Linked DNA regions of Homo sapiens: region 1 is linked to region 2. The links are contacts of gene promoters, found by promoter capture Hi-C in blood cells and fetal thymus (Javierre and others, 2016). All regions are on one chromosome and are shown on one strand. Each heading gives the region's core, a stretch centred on a gene start or on the middle of the fragment in contact. The rest is flanking DNA. Distances are from core to core; before and after follow the strand shown.

Region 1 (6,984 bases), core at 2,498-4,997, 970 kb before region 2:
CAGAGGCATGCATGAGCTGCTCATGCAGTCTGTGGAAGGGCCAGGAGCACATTGAGCTTCGCAAAAGGGTGAAGCCTTCTGGGTTCACCCTTTTGCCAATACAGGGGCCAAACCACACTGGTTTGCAATGTCATGGCCCAGCAAAGTGTGCAAGTGAGCACAAGTGGAGCAATTCAGCAGTGACAGGTACCAGATAAATGAGCTGGCCTGACCCTGGATGAATTTCTTCACAGTCATTCTGAAAATGTGAGTGTTAAGTGTTGAATTGTGTTCCCCTCAAAAATGTGGAAGTCCTAGCCCCCAGTACTTGTGAATGTGATCTTATTTGGAAATTGAGTCTTTGCAGATGATCAAGTTAAGATGAGGTCATTAGGGTGGGCCCTAATCCAATATGGCTGGTGTCCTAAAAATCAAGGGGATGTTGGGGCACAGACACAGACACACACAGACACAGACACACACACACACACACGTGCATGCAGAAAACACCATATGAAGACTGGAGTTATGCTGCCCGATGTGAAAGAAATCCCAGAAGCTGGGAGAAAGGCCTGGAACAGATCCTTCCCTAGAGCCTTCAGAGGGAGCATGTCCCTGCTGACACCTTGATCTTGGACTTCTGTCCTCAAGAACTGTGAGAGAATAAATTTCTGTTGCTTATGCCACTACATTTATGGCCCTTTGTTATGGCAGCCACAGCAAACTAATGTGTTGAGCAAAGGTCAAGTAGCAGGAATCACCCAGAGCACCTTTCCTTCTCCAGTGAGTGCTACCAAGAAAGCGTTTTCCTTTTGAGACAACAATTCTCATAGAAGCAGCGTACACTAAGAGGGACCTTCTGTTACCCAGTCTGGGAGGCTGTTGTCTTCACCCCATTATCTTCCTGCCCCCACTATCATCACCTACAGAAGTCATATGAAGAAATGAACTTTCAGAGGAAAGCTTTTCATTATTAAAGCAAAACAAAGGTGTAATCAGGCAACATTCAGAAGTGAGGGGAGCAGGAGGACTTAAAGAAGAAATGGAAAATAAGCAAAATTGGGGAAGTGGCATTTACATTTAAGATTTGCTTTTGCATCTTCTGCATGGGAACTTCGACCCACGGCTATGTGACTATGAGGCAACTGTAAATGCATCACAAAGATGGGGGTGGATGGAAGCTCAAAGGATTCAAAAGATGCCAGAGGAAAGTGAAGCTCAAATTGGGCCCCCTGGCCCAGCAGCATCAGCATCTCCTGGGAGCTCGTTAGAAACAAGAATTCTCAGCCGCCCCAGGCATACAGGATCAGGAATTCTGGGTGGGGGCCCAGCCATCTGCGTTTTAACAAGCCCTCTAGGGGATTCTGATACATAGTACACAAAAGCTTGAAAAGCATCTTGCTGGGGAAACCACAAAAGGGAGAGAGGTGGAAGGGGAAAGGCAGCAAGATCCAAAATGCTGTTCTAAGGCAATGCTTGGCCTGAACAATGTCAAATCATACTTTTAAAAAAATCCAGCTGAAACTAGAAATCATAAAATGATCACATGTTACATTTTACCTGAAAGCATAAATGTACATCATTTACTAATCTTTCAACAAGGAGCCAAGGCCTTTTGCATCTCTGGGTGCGGTGGGTCAGCAGTGCCACTTCATCCTTCTTACTAATGCACAGTGGATGAACCACATCCACTGTGCATCATCTATTCTTCCAGTTCCAGGGCTTTTTTTTTTTTTAACAGCAAATTTAAGAAACGACTACAAAGCAGTGAGTGAAAAATTATTCTGATTTTTATGATATTTTCTAAACCCCTTCCAGTTTCATGGCAACATTTTTTGGGATTCTCCTTCAAAGCCTTCCTTATCATTCATTAGTCTTTATATACTTGGCTTATGCATTTACATTGCATTGTCTGTTGTTTTGGTTAATTAAAATAATTACGTTACTGGCTCATGCTAAGCCGGCTGCTCAACTAGGAGGATGGGGACCTCCTGGCTGTAGGGATCAACCAGCACGTTTTTATTTCTTTTTTTTTTTTTTTTTTTTTTTGAGACGGAGTTTCGCTCTGTCGCCCAGGCTGGAGTGCAGTGGCGCGATCTCGACTCACTGCAAGCTCCGCCTCCCGGGTTCACACCATTCTCCTGCCTCAGCCTCCCGTGTAGCTGGGACTACAGGCGCACGCCAACATGCCTGGCTAATTTTTGTATTTTTAGTAGAGACGGGGTTTCACCGTGTTAGCCAGGATGGTCTCGATCTCCTGACCTCGTGATCCGCCCGTCTCAGCCTCCCAAAGTGCTGGGATTACAGGCATGAGCCACCGCGCCCGGCTATTTCTTTTTCATTTTTAAAAACAGCTATAATTACAAACCACACAATTCACTCATTTAAAGTATACAGTTCAATGGTTTCTAGTATAGTCACAGAGTTGTGCAACCATCAATTTTAGAGCATTTTTTAATCACCCCCAAAAGAAACTCCCACGTCCATTAGCAGTCACTCCCCATTCCTCCTCCACCAGCCCTGACAACCACGAATCTGCTTTCTGCCCCTATAAATTTGCCTATTCTGAGGGTTTCAAATAAATGGAATCATACGAAAGTGGCCTTTTGTTTCTGGCCTCTTTGAGCACAATGTTTTTAGGGTTCATCCATATTGTAGCATTTATCAGTACTTCATTTATTTTTATGGGTGAATAATATTCCATTGCATGGATATACCAACATGTATTTATCCATTTACTAATTGGTGAATGTTTGAATTGTTTCCAAGCCAGCACATTTTATAGAGGGAAAGGAAAGCACTGGTTAACTTGGAATTCGCTTAAGTGTAGGTCTTTTAAGAGTGTGTCTACTGATGTAGTTTATATAAAAACTAGTTTGAAATAGGGTTTCAAACCACATTGTTTTCCCTTAACTTAAAGATTCTCAACCTGAAAGATGACATAATTCAGCCCATTGTAATATGAGGCCACAAACATTTTGGTATGAAAGGAGCCTTTAAGATAATTTCAGGAAATTGAGACTTACAGGCCTAAGGTGGCTTGTCCCAAATCTCCCAGCTTAACACAGGGAATCAGTGCAGAAACAAAGCTCTCAAATCTTGTTTTATGCCATTACGTTAGCTACCACCTCCAGATTTAAAACCCTGGCATAAGAAAAGGGCTCAGGCTGGGCTTGGTGGCCTAAGCCTATAATCTCAGCACTTTGGGAAGCTGAGGCAGGCAGATCACTTGAGTTCAGGAGTTCAAGACCAGCCTGGGCAACATGGTGAAATGCTGTCTCTACAAAAAATACAAAAATTAGCTGGGCGTGGTGGCATGTGCCTGTGGTCCCAGCTACTAAGTAGGCTGAGATGGGAAGATCACTTGAACCTGGGAGGTAGAGGCTGCAGTGAGTCAAGATCGCACCACTGCACTCCAGACTGGGCACTACAGTGAGGCTCTGTCTCAGAAAAAAATTTTTAAAAAGGTTCAGATGAAGGAAAAAGACCTTAATGAAATGATGTCTAAGAATGGGATTTTAAATCAGCAGTGAAGGAATCCTCTTGTGGTCACTACATGTCCTCCTGATGATTTGTCTGAGCTAATCTAAGCATGAAGCACGCACAGGAACATAAAATGGGAGGGGTGGTAGGACACAGGCCCAGTGCTGAATTGGCCCAATTAGACTGAAGAGAAACCTTATTTCCCATGGTTGTGGTAGATGGCCGGGTCCCACCCCACCTCATATCTACTGACCATAAACAAGGATCTCAAAGCAACTAGGAAGCATTGACGCTGATGAAAGGAACCAGCCCTACATGGATGAAGTTAAAATTGAACATGGAAGGAAAGGGAGTCCAGAGAAGCAGGATCAACCAAGTGTACACCCAACCTCTGCACTTCTGGCTGTGAGTTCAAGCAGGGATTCACTTACTAGAAGCCAAAAGCATCCTGATAATATTCTATAGCAAACCATTGAAGGGGCACGGGAATTAGTCACATTGTTATCCCAAATGTAGAAGGAATAGCAAAGTGTTTAAATGATGATTCTGCACAGAGCTCCAAAATAGTAACTTTCAAAATAGTAACTTTTCATTGTTCTTTAGGACTTCACTCGTCTATGATTGTGAAGACTTGTCTCACAATTCCTCTGTTACAACACTCAAGATGTATTATTTCTGTGCCCCTATCACATATGACCTTTGGTGTGTAAAAGCATCAATGAAAAGCTAATTATAAATACAAGATAGCACCCATATGTACATGCCTCATTCCCTAAACCAGTCTTAGGAACTATGTTTGCTCCTGCATCTGGTATGATTCCACAAAAACATTAGAATACTTGCAATGTGATGTATAAACCTCCGGTTGAATCATTTGCAGAAAGTGTTGTCAGCTTTTTCTTCCAAACTAGAGAGTGCACAAGCATGAAATAGACACTTTACCACTTACACCAATGGCATGAAATTTTACTGAAGGTACAGTGACAATCTCTACTGCAGCAGTAAATGTTTTTCTTTTTAAAGTTCAGAGGCACATGTGCACACTTGTTACATAGGTAAACTTGTGTCATGGGGGTTTGTTGTACAGATTATTTTGTCACCCAGGTATGAAGCCTAGTACCCATTAGCTGTTTTTCCTAAGCCACTCCCTCCTCCCACCCTCCACCCTCCAATAGGCCCCAGTGTGTGCTGTTCCCCTCTGTGTTCTTATCATTTAGCTCCCACTTATAAATGAAAACGTGATATTATTTGTCATGAGTGGCGCAAGGCATAATTCATATGCTTCATTTTGATATACTATATACCCCCCAAATTATATAATTTTTTAAATGTTACCTTAAGTTACAAGGAATATACATGGCTTTTGAAATAATTTTTGATCTTTTTCTTTGCAGTAAACAACCTTGTAATATGTTTTGAATCCGGATATGTAATATATTTTCACAGAGGGGGATAACCTTGTGACCCAAAGGACATTACAGTGAGCTATATTTTAGATTAAGAAGCACAAGAATCGCAGCACTTTGGGAGGCCGAGGTGGGTGGATCACTTGAGGTCAGAAGTTCAAGACCAGCCTGACCAACATGGTGAAACCCCATCTCTACTAAAAATACAAAAAAATTCGCTGAGTGTGGTGGTAGGCACCTGTAATCCCAGCTTCTCAGGAGGCTGAGGCACAAGAATCACTTGAACCCAGGAGGTAGAGGTTGCATTGAGCCGAGATCATGCCAGTGCACTCCAGCTTGGGTATCTGTCTTAATATAATATTTCTTTTTGTCAAGTGGGACTTGCATATCAAGTACCTAATTTGTTACCCTGATATTTTTTGAAAGATCAAAGGCTGTAACCTGTTCTTTTTCCATTTGATGATTTTAAATAACATGAGCTTTCTTAGAGCAAGCACCCAAACACCTGGTAATCCTTAAAATTGATCAAAATGGGGATTAGAGCCTGCTGTTACCCCTCTAAACTGATTCTCCTGGTGGCGGAGTGGGGCGGGGAATAAGGCCAGAGGATGAGAGAAGTAGATTATATCTCAGCACTTTGATTTCTCTCCTTGCTGTTGTTGATCAATGGTGATAGCTAATATTTGCTGAACATTTCCACCCACAGACTCTGTTCCCAGCGCTTTTAGGCATCACCTCAAAGTACCTGCAAAACAACTCTGATAAGTTGGTTCTATTACTCTCATTTCATAGCCGAGAAAGCTGAGGCCCAGAGACATTAAGATCACACAGCGACTAAAGGGCAGGGCAAGGACTCTGCCTCCAGGACACACATTTGTAATCATCACACACACAGCCTCAAGCCTATGGTGACACAAATGACGGGTCATACAATTCTGACAGTCACTGCAAAGGTGAGACAGGAAATGTGCATTGCTTCATTTTCCCTAAGAAGCAATCTCTGGGAGAAGATAAACCATAATGATGACTCAGTAAAGAAATTGGTAACTATCTCTAAATATTCAAAAATACTTACGTGAATTCTCACACTGTGTGTTACCACAATGTGTTCCTTAAATTGGAGTTCTAGCATTTACCACCATTTCATTTATAGACTGTCCATAAGATTGTTGAGTTCCCTGCAAGTAGGGGTATTAGTCTGTTCCCATGCTGCTAATAAGGACATGCCCAAGACTGGGTAATTTATAAAGGAAAGAAGCTTAATGGACTCACAGTTCCACATGGCTGGGGAGGCCTCACAATCATGGTGAAAGGCGAAGGAAGAGCAAAGGGATGTCTTACGTGGCAGCAGGCAAAAGAAGTTGTGCGGGGAACTCCCATTTAAAGAACCATCAGATCTCCTGAGACTTATTCACTACCAGGAGAACAGTATAGGGGAAACTGCCCCCATGATTTAATTATCTCCACCTTGCCCTGCCCTTGACACGTGGGGATTATTAAAATTCAAGGTGAGATTTGGGTGGGGCCACAGCCAAACCATATCAGGGTTATACCTTTTGCAATTTTGTATTCCTTATACGATGCACAAAGGGGACATAAACATTTTGTTAGCCAGTGACTGACAGGAATACTAAATGTTAATATGCAATCCATTTGTAGCCCCAGCTTGTCTGCCAATACTTAGCCTGATGTTCAGTAATTTGTTCTGATTCTGAATAGTGCTATTTCCACAGACACAAGACTTAGTTTAAAACTCCAGAGAATATCCTAAATGAGTTTCAAGCTGTACACGAAAACTCCTATCAGTATTGACCCCTGGACCCAATCAAGCATAATCTAGACACAAAGCAGCTCTGACAATCCAGGAAGCCATGGTTTTTTCTGGAAGTAGTAAAACGATGTATAAAACTTGATCTTGTCATCAAGTTTGCTTGAGTTTAAAGCTTGTTTACCACAGTCCTATAAAACAGGTGAATCCTGCCTTTGGCATATTTTTTGTTTCCAGTTAGTGTTTTGTCTTTCATAAGAATGTCTTATCCCACACTCATTCGATAGCACTTAAGACCCCCCCAAAAAATGCCAACAGTAATTATTTTCCTCTACAGTTTAAAAATAT
Region 2 (7,208 bases), core at 499-2,998:
CATGCAGCTGCAGCAGGCAGCTGTGGGCAGCAGGCGCCGCAGCAGCCAGAGGCCCCACTTTGGGTTTCTGGGGGCGCAGCCGGGCTGCAGGCCCGCGGGCCGGGCTCCACCTGCAGCGTCCGCGCTGCCGGGGGCGCCGGGGAGGGCATCCAGGCGCCGCGCGCCCCTTACCTGCAGTGCCGCATCGCGCCCGCGGCCGCCCACCTGGACAGCATCCTCGAGCATCCTTTCTTCAGCGCGACGGCTGCGAGCGCCGTGACATCACCAGGAGGCGGGCCCCACGCTGCCACGTGACGCCCTCGGGGCGAGGCAGGGAGGTGTGCGCGGGGTGGGGGGAAGACCCTGGAAGTCCCGGGAGGTGAGGGTCGATGGCCAGAAACCCTCGCGCTGGCCGCCCCTCAGGCGTTTCGCTTGATGTGTGCAGCTTGCCTGGCCTTTCGCGAAGAATTATGAAAAACAACACACAGGAGGAGAAATCCAAATTATTACAGGCTCCAAGCGAGTAATAGGATTTCAAAAGAATTAGCAATAAAGGGATTACAGTGAAAGGAAATACAATTTCATGTTTTATTTTAAAACTAGTATTTATCAAATGCAGTGGAGAAATAAACATTTTGTGCAAATCAAAATGACACAAAATATAGCATGGACATACTTTGCCTAGAGTTTCTATGTTTCAAGCCGTATATCGAGTATTATACCAAACACTTTAGTTCAAAGCAATTCATTATGGAACATTATACTAATTGCACGGATGAATAATGCTTTAATTACTCTGAATAGCTGCATTCCAATATTAATTTGTATTTGCCAAAGGAAAAAATGGTGACACCACGTATTTCTACTACTTACTTAAATATGTGATGATTTAAAATAAAGCACTGCTACGTGAGCATGGTTGTATTTGTGTCTCTGTTTTCTTACATCTTCTGGCAAGGCATTTAATCTCTGAGACATGACTTAATTCACAATAACTCATTATTTCACATTTTCTAATCTTTATCACATTCTGAAGAAGTGAGTCATTTTACTATCACAGAAAATATGTACAATGTCAACATTTCTCATTCACAACTGAAACAGCCTTGCCTAGAAAGACTTTAGAAAATTACAACTGTGATAATTTTGTAAATTTGAAATAGCGTATTTCAAACTTAAGCAGTGCACATATAAACTTTTCTTTTGCCAAAATACACAAGCGTTTTTGAAATGTAAAAGGACAAAAGCAAAGACTGCTTTTATTTGTATTCCAATTGCAAATAGATTCATTTACTTTCACTTGAGTTAAAAATCACAATTTTAACATTCCCTTTGCTCACAGCCCTGAAGGAGACATGAAATAGATTGTTTTACAAGCAGGCTAGAGTTAAGTTTACTTGCAGTTTATTCCATCAGCTTTCGTGTCCTTCTATATTTAACCCTGGCCCTTATACCGTGATTCCCTCCAAATTAACCAAATTTCTGTTCAGAAGGTTAATCTCTAATTTGGGGATAAATACAGCCCTTGACTCTCACAGCGATCAATTATTTTCAACACCAGATTTTAAAAATCAACAAAGTCGCAGTGTACTTTACTAGGTCACTCCTCTCAAATTTGTTTTTCTGAGTGATAAGCAGCTTACCTTCCGCTTTCAGATTCTGAGATAAAGTTAAAACGCTACCGAAATCTCCTGCTCCTTTGGGTTGAGGGTCTAATGGAGGCAGAAACTGACAAGCTCATTTTCCTGCCAGAGGCAAATGTCGATTTCAGCCCGGAGGGCCCCGGAGGCCGGCTGGGAGCATCACGTGCTCGGCCCAGCCACTCAGCCCTGCCCAGCCAGCCTGGTCACCTCTTGGCTCCGGAGCCCCGCCGTGCCAGTGTCATTCGCCTCCTACCCCCGGAGCATTCGTGTCCAGAGAAAACCCGGCGTCCCGGAGACAGGACGCCCCACCCTCAGGGGCTGGGCTGCACGGAATTCTGTGACCGGATTTTCCAGCATCAATGGGAGGTGGTGGGTATACAAAATGCCCTGCAGCCTGAAGAGGATGGTAGCACGGTGCAGACAGCCTTGCTCCGTATTCCGGCTTGGCTGAAATGACGAAATACAGGCAACCTTCTTCATCCTGGAGCAGTTTTTTTGCAGTAGGTTAGTTTCACCTTCTCTTTTTTCTAGGTGATTGCTCAATTGTAAAAAACATTGCAGCAAACCGGCAATTCAGACAAGGCCCAGAACTGGGCCAAGCAATTCTCAACAGAATGAGAGAGCTGTCTGAACACCCTCCACCCTCGCCTTTCAAATTGTCATTTTAGCCAAGATTAAAAAACAAAACCAAAAAAAGCAAAAACCAATACCACCCATGGGAATGTAAGTTGAGCAATCTTTCTGGTGGTCTGTTTAGCATTTTTCCTACCAAATGCCTTACAGATACACAGTTTCGCCAATTACTCCGGGCCCTACAGCTGTTGGTATCATGTGCTCCAGCAACTTGATGTCCAAGAATTTGTCCTGGGGTGTGGGGAGTGGGGGTGGGGGGAAGAACGGTGTGCAAACCCCTGACTAGGGAAAGTTTGCTGCAATATTACTTATGATCTCAAAGCACTGGAAACAAGTTAAATCTCCAAAAACAGGGGATGTTTTAAATTATAAGCCATCTGTGCAGTGGAAGAATTAAAACTAATACGGTGGTACACACGGATGGAAAAAGACATGTGCAGCGGATTAAATGGGAAAAAAAATGGAAGCTTCAAAGCATTATGTGCTGAGTGATCCGTCGTTTCTATGTAGGTGTAATATATTTATATCTACACATATACCTTTGCGAACACAGAAAACTATTAGGAAATGAATTCACTAAAGTATCAAACATGGTATCTCACTGGTTAGTGGGATTAAGGGTGTTTTAAATTTTTCTTCTTTTAAGCTTAGAGATATCGTCTAATTTTTCCACAGTGAATATGTATTGCTTTTATAGCAACAAAAAAATTGTTTTCTTAAAAGCACCATATAGACATGATTATGGAATAAACAAACAGTTTTGGCTAATTTTTTAATGCAGATTTCATTACTTGAAGATCCTGAATTCTTAACCACAAAGTCCCGAGGGAACAATCCCTAGCCATCCTAGATTATTCTGCTCATGAAGATCTTTAGGAAAGAAAGTGCCATTCAGGGGCCGTTGTTAATATTTAACCATCTGTATGTCCAGTTTTAATTTCTCTTCCATTTAAACCTACTTCTTTTTACTTTGCTCTGTGTGGAGATAGAAAGCTGGTTATTACCATCCTTCATGAAAAGATTCTTTCAATAGTTACGGAATAATAACCTTTGAGTTTTTTGTTCATTCGAGACAGGGTCTCACCCTGTCTCCCAGGCTGGAGTGCAGTGGCACGATCATGGCTCACTGCAACCTCAAATTCCTGGGCTCAAGCAATCCTCCTGCCTCAGCCTCCCAAGTAACTGGGACTACAGGCTCTTTCCATTGTCTTCACAGATTTCTCTTTCCTATCCCTTTGAATCTTCTACATTTTTTCTCTTATCTGCCAGTTTTCTACAGATGTCATACAAGGTTTAGAACAGCGGTTCTTAATGGGGTGATGTTGCTCCCTTTCCCCCAGGGGACATTTTTGGCAGCCACAACTGAAGTGGGAGGAGCCGTGTGCTCCTGGCATTGAGTGGGTAGAGGCCAGGGCTGCTGCTGAACATCCTACAGTGCACAGGACAGCTCCCTCTCCACTCCTACCTCCCGGGACAATGAACATTTCGGCCCAAAATATCAGTACAATAGTGCTGAAGTCGAGAAACCCTGGTTTGAATTACTGATGGAGTATAATTTGATGCCCAAGATGTTCCATTTCCCAGCCATTTTCAAGAGTTCCCCATTGTATGATGTGCTGGAAGCTCTCTTCATTATAAATCCCTTAAAGGTAGTACTCCCAGCATGTGGGACGTGTCATTGCCCACCTGTGTGTGCACCACAAACCACCTCTGAAAAGAGACATCGGGAACTGCTAAGGGTGTTATCTCTAGGGAGGAAAACTGTGTGGCTTGGCACAGAGGTGGATGGGAAATTTTCATAGATTTGGATGCACTGTATATTTTTAAAACAGACATTTTCCCACCACTAAATTGTTAAAACTCACTATTCAATTATTCTATAAATGGTGGGTTTTACAAAACCTAGAGGTGAGGACCCTATTGCCTCTTTGTGTCCAAGCCCCCATATATATGTGTGTGTGTTTGTATATATATTATATATTATACATATATATTTTATATATATATATATATATATATTTTTTTTTTTAGACAGTCTTGCTTTGTCGCCCAGGCTACAGTGGTGCAATCTCAACTCACTACAACCTCCGCCTCCCGGGTTCAAGCGTTTCTTGTGCCTCAGTCTCCTGAGTAGGTGGGATTACAGGCGCCCACCACCACACCTGGCTAATTTTTGTATTTTTAGTAGAGATGGGGTTTCACTATGTTGCCCAGGATGGTCTCGAACTCCTGATCTCAACTGATCCGCCCGCCTCAGCACATGCACCCTGTAGAGAGTGCCTTCCTCTGCAGCATGTCATCTGATTCTCGCAGCAGCTGGTTAACAGGAGTAGGGCAGATCTGCTGTGCACCCATTTTGCAGACAGGCTCAGAGACAGCCCTGACATCAGCCTCCTGTTCTGATGGAGGCTGGAGCACCCTGGGGTCAGGCTAGGTCTTCTCTGGCCAGGACCCCAGCTTCTTCCCCAGGCGCCTCTGACCATCCCCTCCACCCTTCTTGGAGCCACAGCTTCCTGGGACCCTCTGGACAGCACTCACCAGCTTAGACCCAAATTATTTACTCGCATTAACCCCTGAGCTCCTGAGCTCCTGAGCTCCTGGAAGGACAGAGGGGAGCTGCATTTACCTGCTCTTTGAAAGCCCAGCATATAGCACTGTCTCTGGGATACAGTTTGTTACACCAGAACTAAAATTTTCCCAAATGTTCTCAGCCAACCGCTTTAATCATACACCATCTTGAAGTATTACATGGCTGTATTGCAGTATTACTGCCTGTGCTATTTTGCCAAGCTTCTGCAAGCCCCACTTTTCCCTTCTGTAAAACAAGGAGAAGGAGGAAGAGTAATAGTATCCACCACTTGTAGCTGAGTGAGACGTAAGTGAGAGATCTGGAAAGAGCACAAGCAGTGCCTTATTATTAGAATTTGAGACACAAGAAAAGTTGTGTACCCCTAAATACAGTGATCAAGATACCCTCTTGTATTTTGAACCAAGTGAAAAAAGTCAGTAAAGACCCTACAACCGAAACACACACGCACAGAAACTATGTATAATGCTCCCCGTGGCCCAATTTATTTGCACCCACATAAACCTCCCCTTCAGATACCTCCTGGCCAAGTAACCCCTCGCTGATTGGAATTGACTATGCTCCCTTGCCCAACACTGAAGGGGAGTGAAACAAACCACAACAGCCTGTCCTTATTTAAAATGTTCATATCTTGTACATTGTAATTTTCTGCACTAATTTTGATTTTATAAATTATATATGTACATATATATGTACATATATATGTGTGTGTGTATATATATACATATATATGTGTGTGTGTATATACATATATATATATTTTTTTTTTTTTTTTTGAGATGGGGTTTTGCTCTCGTCGCCCAGGCTGGAGTGCAGTGGCATGATCTTGCCTCACTGCAACCTCCATCTCCCAGGTTCAAACAATTCTCCTGCCTCAGCCTCCTGAGTAGCTGGGATTACAGGTGCCTACCACCACACCTGGCTAATTTTTGTATTTTTAGTAGAGACGGGGTTTTGCCATGTTGGCCAGGCTGGTCTCAAACTCCCGACCTCAGGTGATCCACCCACCTCAGCCTCCCAAAGTGGTGGGATTACAGGCGTGAGTCACCGTGCCTGGCCAGTATATTATCTTGATTACTGATTTTTGTGGTGCCCTCTTACGTTTTGCACCCAAGGTAAGTGCCTCCCTCACCTCCTCCAAATTCCAGCCCTGAGTATCTGGTAAATTATTCTATAAATGGGGGATCTTATAAAACCTGGAGGTGAAGACCCTATTTCATCTATCTTTGTATCCTGAACTCCTTTACACCTGAATACACCATCTCCAATGAATGAATGAATGAATGAATGAGTTGCTTCCATACCTAGCTGGGGGCTATGCACATGGCCAGCATCCTAAAAGATTTGGGGAATAAGTAAGTGACATGGGATATAAGAATATGCAATCCAGCCTTTTCTAGGCATTCTGGGCTGTGTTCACAGATCTCAGCAGACATCCAAAAGCTGCAAACTCAGACCCCATTGCCCTGACATCGATCCAAAGTGACAGCCTTGACTGACGTGACAAACAACAGCTTTGAAATCCCTCTGCTTTTGCAGTGGAGTGGAGTTGTTGTCAAGGACATTGTCTGTGCTGGGAAGCCTGAGAAAAGAGCCCGTGTAGCTCTAAGGCCTAAGAGAAGTGTTGCCATCCCTTAAAAAAACCATATGGTGCTTTTCCTCTCTGACAATAAGAACTGTGGAGCTGCCACTGTCTCCTTTTTCTCTGTGAGTGCCAGGAGACTCAGATGTTGCCAAGGCAATTCAGTAGGCCTGTCTCCTCCAGTAGGCATATGCACAGTGGCATGTCAGTCATCGTTAAATAACCCAGCTCTCCAAGGGTGGGGCATGGGGAGGGAGGCTTGATTTGTAGCTTGTGCTGATTCTCCTGGTGTAAATTCTCCTGCCATGCCTTGCTTCGAACTACTGAATGGGGAGCTGGAAACTGATGCACGATAGCCATCATTGGACAGCATCTCCACCACGCACAGACAGAAGTCAGTTATCTTATTGCACCTGGACAGTGAACAGCTTTTCTCACCCAGGACCTGGCCTCTGAGAAAAGCTGCTCCTTGTCCAGGTGCCTTGGGTTGGAAATGGGATTTTTCTAGAATTGCACTGCTCTATGGTAGCCACTAGACACAGTTACTATTTACATGAAAATGAATTTAACTTAAAAGTTCCAATTCAGTCCCTCAGTCACACTAGCCACATGTCAGATGCTCAAGAGCTACATGTGGCTTGTCACTACGGTATTTTAGCGCAGATATAAAACAATTCCATCATTGCAGATAATTCTATTGGATGATGCAGTAAAATATTTCTTTTAAACGAACTCCATTGCAATAAAACAATTTGTGTTTATTACTCATGGGATTCTGCCTGTA

Evidence for each region. The method cuts DNA at HindIII sites, captures the fragments that hold promoters and counts their contacts. A CHiCAGO score of 5 or more calls a contact.
Region 1: a contact is called between a fragment that was not itself captured here and the fragment with the promoter of CLCN4 in region 2, in 2 of 17 cell types (naive CD8 T cells and non-activated CD4 T cells). The highest score is 6.2, in naive CD8 T cells.

Annotation. Positions count from the first base shown.
Region 1 is chrX:11,124,032-11,131,015 of GRCh38, reverse strand. No RefSeq gene overlaps it. Among named protein-coding and RNA genes, the nearest start is that of HCCS, 16 kb to the right of the region's middle. The HindIII fragment of the contact is 4,762 bases long and covers 1,367-6,128 here.
Region 2 is chrX:10,151,515-10,158,722 of GRCh38, reverse strand. CLCN4 (chloride voltage-gated channel 4) reads right to left here and starts at 1,748. Exons shown (of 13, transcript NM_001830.4): 1 at 1,623-1,748; 2 at 172-434. The HindIII fragment of the contact is 3,563 bases long and covers 1-2,724 here.